2 separate regions of the Homo sapiens genome follow, and region 1 is linked to region 2. The links are contacts of gene promoters, found by promoter capture Hi-C in blood cells and fetal thymus (Javierre and others, 2016). All regions are on one chromosome and are shown on one strand. Each heading gives the region's core, a stretch centred on a gene start or on the middle of the fragment in contact. The rest is flanking DNA. Distances are from core to core; before and after follow the strand shown.

Region 1 (4,161 bases), core at 1,285-3,784, 540 kb before region 2:
ACTGCTAATGCATACTGGCATTCTACGGTGAAAAGGGTTTAAGAGTGAACACGACACACCCCTTCACCTCTTTCCATGCCAGAGCTCTGAATCGACCAAGAGATGCAACGGGGCTGATAGTTGGAGGATAGAATGCCAGCTCTATTACTGACAAACACTACAAAGCAAAACTACAGTGGGCTTTCCAAGAGTCCCCAGAATTAGTCTGGCTTTTCTGCCCAGTCACTGAAAGGGCTGAAAAAATCAAAACAAGACAAAACCACGATAAATATCTTTCTCCTTGAGGTAGGACCTTTACCTACTGGTAGAGAACACAGGTGCTCTCTGCAAGCCATTATGGCCTATAAAGAGGAGCACTGTAGAATGCTTATCTTCATCCTAAACTTTACAGTGAGATGACCTCGAAGGCCCTCTATGGAGAGGAGTAAGCAGGTGGACAGCGGTATTTAGGGAAAATCTGTCTTTGTGGAGAAGTTCCCTACCTAATTAACCTTCCCTTGTTTGAAGCCTTTTTTGGTGGGACCTGGGGGTGGAAGAGCCCATCTCATTTATCGTTTGTCCTTTGGAAGCATTCCACTCTCCTAAATGGAATTTTATATTGCACACTTTCACATACAAATTGTACAAAACCCTGACCCTTATGTTTGGAAGAAGAGAAATAATGTATTCTATTAAAAGGAGGTCCCCCCATTTAATTGCACAATGATGTGACGGTGAAGCACCCCTAGAGAAGTGTCCTTTAGATACATCTGTGCAGAAGGAACTAGCTGCGTGAACTGGGACAAGTCATGTCACCGCTCCTGGCCTCATTTCCCTTGGGGATTAAGCCCAGTGGGGCACTGGAGGCTGCCTTGGTCCCTTCCAGCCCTCACATTCTCTCACACTCGGCTCTTCTGTTTCCAAGAACAATAATGACTGCAGAAAATATCATTTTGCCTTAGATTGTGATCTTCGTGACTTCATCTGTGTGAACAGACAAACATTAAAAAAACAGCTGAAGCATAACACAGGATCTAAGGCCATGTCCAGGGGCCCTTCCTTAAAGCCTCCAGTTGAGATAAACTTTTAAACAAACAGCATTTGTGTGTTGAGAGAGGTGGGAGAAGGTGGTACGGTATGAAGTGGAGTCTTTATTCAGGGTCTAAGCTCTCGTTTCCTGGGACAGTGAGAACTTTGTCTTTTCGGAAAGCTTGCCTGAAGTGTTTGCCTGTTTTATAGCTTGAGGTCAGGGAAGAAGAACAAGATATATCTGAGCCGCTTCCTCCCTGAGCCTTTCATCCCTCCCTGCTACCTAAGTCTGCAGCCTCTGCACCCTTTGGCTAGATTCCTGCTCAGGAGAACCAGGTCAACTCGCACACATGTGCACATACACACATACAAACACATATGCACACAACAGAACAATCGCACTCCTTTCTACCACTGAAATGAGGCTGATTCCCCTGTGGAGGAAGGGATGGTTTGCTACATGGCCCTCACACAGTCCTCACTCCTTAATGACATCCTTGCCTCACCCGGCTTCACTGCCCCTCTCTGGAGGCTGCTACAGTACTGTGTACATTTCCAGTCTACTTTCTTTGCCTGGAAGGGTGCTAATTTTGTTTTCACACATGCATAGCACTTCTAGTTCATGAGCTCTCTGAATGCAAGGCCTGTATCTGATTTACTTTTGATTCCCTGGTCCGAGGCCTTAGTATATAAAGAGCCATCAGCTCGTGATTTTTGAATAAATTTCAAATTAAGGAACATAGTAAACACCTTTTGGGATCTCTGCTTATCTCACAACCACCTCCAATTAACTGCTCATTAATAGGGGTGGACGTCTGGCAGCCGTGTTTCAACTCTCTAAGACTCTGTATGAACCAATCAGAGTCCCTCTAGCAGGTTGAGAGAGAACGCTTAGCCTTTCCCACAGCAGGAACGGGGATGTGAGGTGTCTGTCCTTCACCAAGTCTCCAGAGAAACAATGTAAGCTCTGCAGAAGATATAGAACTGGGCCGGGGGCGGTGGCTCACGCCTGTAATCCCAGCACTTTGGGAGACCCAGGCGGGTGGATCACGAGGTCAGGAGATCGAGACTACGGTGAAACCCGTCTCTGCTAAAAATACAAAAACAGCTGGGGGCAGTGGCAGGTGCCTGTAGTCCCAGCTACTCGGGAGACTGAAGCAGGAGAGTGGCATGAACTCGGGAGGCGGAGCTTGCAGTGAGCCGAGATCGTGCCACTGCACTCCAGCCTGGGCGACAGAGCGAGACTCCGTCTCAAAACAAAAACAAAAACAAAAAAACAACTGAAGACCTTTTATTAACAAAAATAATGCAAGGTTGTTATAACAAATCAGACCACGCATACCCATATGATGGAGGAACCAATGTTCGAGAATGGCTAAGAATATTTTATAAAAGAAAAATAGGAAGCGGGTAGGGGCTTATCCTACCAGATTAAAACAGTGTGGTAGTGAGTATAAATACGGTATGTTGGCAGAACAGATAGGATCCCGCTACATATAGGCACTTACTCGATAATAAATGTGCCACTTCAGTGGGGAAATGACAGATTGTTATTTTCTTAATGGTACAGAGACAATTGATTCCACATTTGGGTGAAAAGCTAGCTTAAATGGAGTATAAAAATAAATCCATATGAACTAAACATAAACATAAAATCATTATTAAAAATAGTATTAAAGACTATACTTTGAGGTGGAGGCAGCTTTCTAAGCAAGATAGAAAACACAGAAGCTATAAAAGACAAACTATTAGCAGCTTCAGTTACATTAAAAAATTAATAATTTTTAAAATTGGAAAGAGATCCCATAAAGAAATAAGCCAGGTAATTATTAGAAAGTATTTGCAACTCATATGATGCACAAGAGGATATTATCCCCAGGATGCAAGGAGTTTCTACAAATTAAGAACTAAAAGATAGACAACCGAACAGAATAATGAATGAGGGCATAGTTTTAAGTCTCCCTCCCTCTCTTTTTATAAAACACTAATTTTTGTTCAAAGCAATAAGCAAAAGTTTAATTTGTTCTGTGTCCTCTATATGTAAAGTCCATAAAGTTCTGCGGGAATCATCTCCTTTTAAATATGAGCTGCTCAATTTCGACACTGAATTCAGCTAACGTATATTAACCAAGAGAAATCAAGAGTGCTTTGAATTCCCACTCAAATTCATTTGACGGCTATTTGCCTTACCACGCAGGGCTTTTATAAAGCCCCAGGAACGGGGTGTGCAAACAGTGGTACCTAACTCAATTATTTCTCTTCCACCTTTCTTTTCTTTCTTTCTTTCTTTTTTTTTTAATTGACTAGTCTTCTTCAGCAGCTGTTTCAAAGGAAGGGAGGGAGGAAAGTAGGAAGGAGGGGGTGCAGGCAGCCTGGCCGAATTGGTCCATTCTGTTCCTGGTGCGGTTCCTCCTCTAGCCACATGATGGCGGCATGAGCATTGCCGTACTTCTGCGCTCTCAAGTCTAGCGCTTTAAATCCCCAGTTTTAAAGCCAGGGGCGCCGGGGTGTGTTTGTGTTTGTGCCTGCAAGTCAAGGCCATGCCCAGACTTAGCACTCTCAGCTGCTCTGTAATGCAAGTCGACAGGAAAATCTACAAGGGCTTCACGGTCTTCTTTCTAGAAAAATCCCAACAAGGGTTTGATAGTAAAAAGTACTTCGTAGTCATTTTCAAATAGGGGAGAATTTCCTGAAGTATGCAGCATCTGCTCTGCCGGGTTTGCAATCTGTGCACAGGTATTGCAGTTAATGAGCCACCGGCTTGCCGCTTCCAGGGCCAGGCTGGAGCAGTCAGCTGGTGGAATGATGGGAACTGCAATCGGCAGCTCTGCACCAACGTGCCCCGGGTTGGAAAATGTGATTTGTGACAGAGAAGCTTGGGAATAATAATGAAAACATAATTGCTCCAGGTTGGTTGCTCTCTTTCAATTGCAAAGCCGTCTCACCTCTTGTGAGAGGAACTGTAGTTCTAAGCGTTCATTTCTCTAGAACAACTAGAGGCACACCCAGCAACTGTCCTTCTGCCCCCAGTGAAACTTGGATTTTTTTTTTTTTGAACTCCAGAGAAGAGCTGTCCCCCAAATTCAAGAAGAATCGTACTTACTTCATCTCCAGGATGCCTGGGGCAGCTTGTCTGTTCAAGCAGAATCTCCC
Region 2 (4,272 bases), core at 143-2,642:
CTAGGACTTTATTACCTGCAACCCATCCTGCAAAACTGTGAAGATTTGATATGATCATTCTCATTTTATGGTTGAGAAACAAGGGTTAAGGACATTAAAAATTTACTCAATGTTTAAACATTTGCCTGTCTTATTCTAAAGCCCCTTCTCTTTTCACAATCCCTTTAAGAAATGGACATCCAATATTTGAGTGGCAGAGGCAAAAACATGGCCTACCAGAACCATTATGATAGCTTTACAATATGCCCACCAATTATTTGATAGTCCTCCTGCCAAATGGTGAAGGCTAATTACCCTCCTACAGAATGTGACTCACTTCTAATGAATAAAATATGGCACAAGTAAAAGTGTGCGATTTCAGAGACTAGGTCATAAAGAACGCAGTGGCTTCTTCCCTGCTCTCTCTTTCTTAGGTCATTCTCTCTGGGTGAATCCAGCTGACATGTTGTGAGGACACTCAAGCAGCTTTATGGAAAAGCCCACATGGTGAGCAACTGAGGCCTCCTACCAACAGCCAACAAGAAACCGGGGCCTTTGCCAACAGCCAAGTAAGTGAGACATTTTGGAAAGTGGATCCTCCAGCCCCCGTTAGGCTCCCAGATGACAACATCCCCTGCTCTCATCTTGACCACAACCTCATGAAATACCCTTATCCAGGATACCCAGTTAAGCCACACCACAATTGCTATTTTACAAAACTGTGAGCTATGTGTTAGTTGTTTTTAAGCTATTAAGTTTTGAGGTGATCTATTACACAATGATAAACAACTAATACACCCATCCAGTGCTGAAGAAAGGGGTTGTCAGGAGGGTAGAATTTGCACTATTAAATCTTCATAGAGTGCTATTTCCCGTCACTACAGCACACTTGTCACCAACTATAAAGAATTAGGTCAGGGAATTTCTTTGGTTGCAGCCCATTTTGCCTTTGGTTGTTAATGGTAGAACCGTTTCCCCACAATCTGCAGGAAATAAGAATCAGAAAGAAGGACACACCATTCCATAGCACAGAACACAAGTAGATGGCTCCCATGAAGAATCTAGCATCATGGTATGGCAGAAGCAGAATGGACTCAGGAATCATGGTGCCTACACTGGAATTTCAGATCGGCCACTGACACAATGGACACATTATTCAACATTTCCAAATCTTGGCATTCTTATCCACAAAGTGAAGATAATAATTGTCAATTCACAGGTGATTATGATTTAAAGAGATTACTTTTGAAGAGTTCCTAACACATTCAGTCAACATTTAATGATGCTTCAGGCACTGTGTTCATTGCTAGTGAGCGTATGACACACACAGCCATACGGTCACAGAGCTTTCAATGAAAAGTAACATAATTGCTCATTTCACCAGGCCCCCGGCTTGGGGCGCCTTCCTTCCCCATGGCGGGACACCTGGCTTCGGATTTCGCCTTCTCGCCCCCTCCAGGCGGTGGGGGTGATGGGCCATGGGGGGCGGAGCCGGGCTGGGTTGATCCTCTGACCTGGCTAAGCTTCCAAGGCCCTCCTGGAGGGCCAGGAATCGGGCCGGGGGTTGGGCCAGGCTCTGAGGTGTGGGGGATTCCCCCTTGCCCCCCGCCGTATGAGTTATGTGGGGGGATGGCGTACTGTGGGCCTCAGGTTGGAGTGGGGCTAGTGCCCCAAGGCGGCTTGGAGACCTCTCAGCCTGAGAGCGAAGCAGGAGTCGGGGTGGAGAGCAACTCCAATGGGGCCTCCCCGGAACCCTGCACCGTCCCCCCTGGTGCCGTGAAGCTGGAGAAGGAGAAGCTAGAGCAAAACCCGGAGAAGTCCCAGGACATCAAAGCTCTGCAGAAAGAACTCGAGCAATTTGCCAAGCTCCTGAAGCAGAAGAGGATCACCCTGGGATATACACAGGCCGATGTGGGGCTCATCCTGGGGGTTCTATTTGGGAAGGTGTTCAGCCAAAAGACCATCTGCCGCTTTGAGGCTCTGCAGCTTAGCTTCAAGAACATGTGTAAGCTGCGGCCCTTGCTGCAGAAGTGGGTGGAGGAAGCTGACAACAATGAAAATCTTCAGGAGATATGCAAAGCAGAAACCCTCATGCAGGCCCGAAAGAGAAAGCGAACCAGTATCGAGAACCGAGTGAGAGGCAACCTGGAGAATTTGTTCCTGCAGTGCCCGAAACCCACACTGCAGATCAGCCACATCGCCCAGCAGCTTGGGCTCGAGAAGGATGTGGTCCGAGTGTGGTTCTGTAACCGGCGCCAGAAGGGCAAGCGATCAAGCAGCGACTATGCACAACGAGAGGATTTTGAGGCTGCTGGGTCTCCTTTCTCAGGGGGACCAGTGTCCTTTCCTCCGGCCCCAGGGCCCCATTTTGGTACCCCAGGCTATGGGAGCCCTCACTTCACTGCACTGTACTCCTCAGTCCCTTTCCCTGAGGGGGAAGTCTTTCCCCCAGTCTCCGTCATCACTCTGGGCTCTCCCATGCATTCAAACTGAGGTGCCTGCCCTTCTAGGAATGGGGAACAGGGGAGGGGAGGAGCTAGGGAAAGAGAACCTGGAGTTTGTGGCAGGGCTTTTGGGATTAAGTTCTTCATTCACTAAGGAAGGAATTGGGAACACTAAGGGTGGGGGCAGGGGAGTTTGGGGCAACTGGTTGGAGGGAAGGTGAAGTTCAATGATGCTCTTGATTTTAATCCCACATCATGTATCACTTTTTTCTTAAATAAAGAAGCCTGGGACACAGTAAAAAAAAAAAAAAAAGAAAGAAAAGAAAAGTAACATAATTGAGTAATAATTTTTTAAGTGTGGTAAAATGTGTGGCACGTAGTAGGTATTCAATAAATACTTGCTTTTTTCCTCCTTTTTACCTTTTCCTAGAGTGCTACTTGATGGTAGCTGTAGTTTTTCTTCAAGACATCCTATTTGTCCTGATACAAAACCTCTTTTGACCGCTAACGGCATAGTTCGGCCCTCACCATTCCCTCACATATTCCACAAAAATGTGAGCATTAACCATTCCCCATGATACAGATAATTCATTTTTTAATTTAATTTTTTAAAATTTTATTTATTTACTTATTTATTTTGAGACCAGGTTATGAGACTGGCTAATTTTTGTATTTTTGGTGGAGATGGGGTTTTGCCATATTGTCTAGGCTGGTCTCAAACTCCTGAGCTCAAGGGATCCTCCTGCCTGGGCCTCCCAAAGTACTGGGATTACAGGCATGAGCCATTGCACCTGGCCCGGATAATTTTTTTTCTTTTTTTGAGGTAGTGCCTTCCTTTATAGCTCAGGCTGGAGTGCAGTGGTGTGATCTCGGCTCACTGCAACCTCTGCCTCCCAGGTTCAAGTAATTCTCCTGCCTCAACCTCCTGAGTAGCTGGGATTACAGGCGCCCACTACCACGCCCGGCTAATTTTTGTATTTTTAGTAGAGATGGGGTTTCACCATGTTGGCCAGGCTGGTCTCGAACTCTTGACCTCAGGTGATCTGCCTGCCTTGGCCTCCCAAAGTATTGGGATTGTAGGCGTGAACCACCACGCCCGGCCCTGAAAATTCATTTTTAAAAGAACATCATATCTACCTTAAATGCATTAAGATTTCACATTAGACTCATTATTCATAGTGAACATTAGGAACTTAAGTCCACTCAGTAATAATGCACCTATTCATGACTCTTGATTCAAAGATGTGCACCTATTTACCCTGGACCAGCTCCTTGGAAGGACATGAAATAGAGGGTAATAATCACATCTTTCCAAATTTGCTATGAAACTGCATCGCCAAAAACTGAGACTCATTTTCCGATTGATGAATCAAATGACAACAAAATCTCCAGGGCATTCTGAAACCCAACAGGGATTAATGATTAGGCATACCAGTGGTAGTTAGGAGACTTGCCCAAATTTCCAGTTTTCTGCAGATGGCATCTAAGTTAGAAGACTGTCATAAATTTATTCATGGCTTGGCTTTCTGCTATTTGCTCATTGGTGACACTTTTATATACAATGGTGTTTCTATGGCTAGGAAATCCCAGTGGAGATCAAGAAACCTGGGTTCTACAAACTAATGGGGTGACCTTTGATTAGTCCTAACTCCCTTCCTAAGCCTCAGTTTCTTTAGACATGAAATGAAAGCAATGGATTACATTGCCTTAGACTTTTTCCTAGATCGAAAATGTGATAATTGTGCCTTTCCAACAATAATTGATACCACTAGTGAACATTCTTTCTTAAGCACATCTATTAAGGACTTCATTTATATTATTTTTCTAATCTTTAAGCAAACTCTGAGAT

What was found. Contacts are between HindIII fragments. The CHiCAGO score rates a contact against its expected background, and 5 or more counts as called.
Region 1: a fragment that was not itself captured here is called in contact with the fragment with the promoter of POU5F1B in region 2 in 1 of 17 cell types (M1 macrophages); the score reaches 6.8 in M1 macrophages.

Annotation. Positions count from the first base shown.
Region 1 is chr8:126,873,328-126,877,488 of GRCh38, forward strand. All of the region lies in intron 3 of LOC105375751 (a long non-coding RNA gene), which reads left to right. Among named protein-coding and RNA genes, the nearest start is that of PCAT1, 140 kb to the right of the region's middle. The HindIII fragment of the contact is 2,694 bases long and covers 1,188-3,881 here.
Region 2 is chr8:127,414,475-127,418,746 of GRCh38, forward strand. POU5F1B (POU class 5 homeobox 1B) reads left to right here and starts at 1,393. Exons shown (of 1, transcript NM_001159542.3): 1 at 1,393-2,472. The coding sequence starts at 1,393. The coding sequence ends at 2,472. All of the region lies in intron 5 of CASC8 (cancer susceptibility 8), which reads right to left. The HindIII fragment of the contact is 3,513 bases long and covers 1-1,500 here.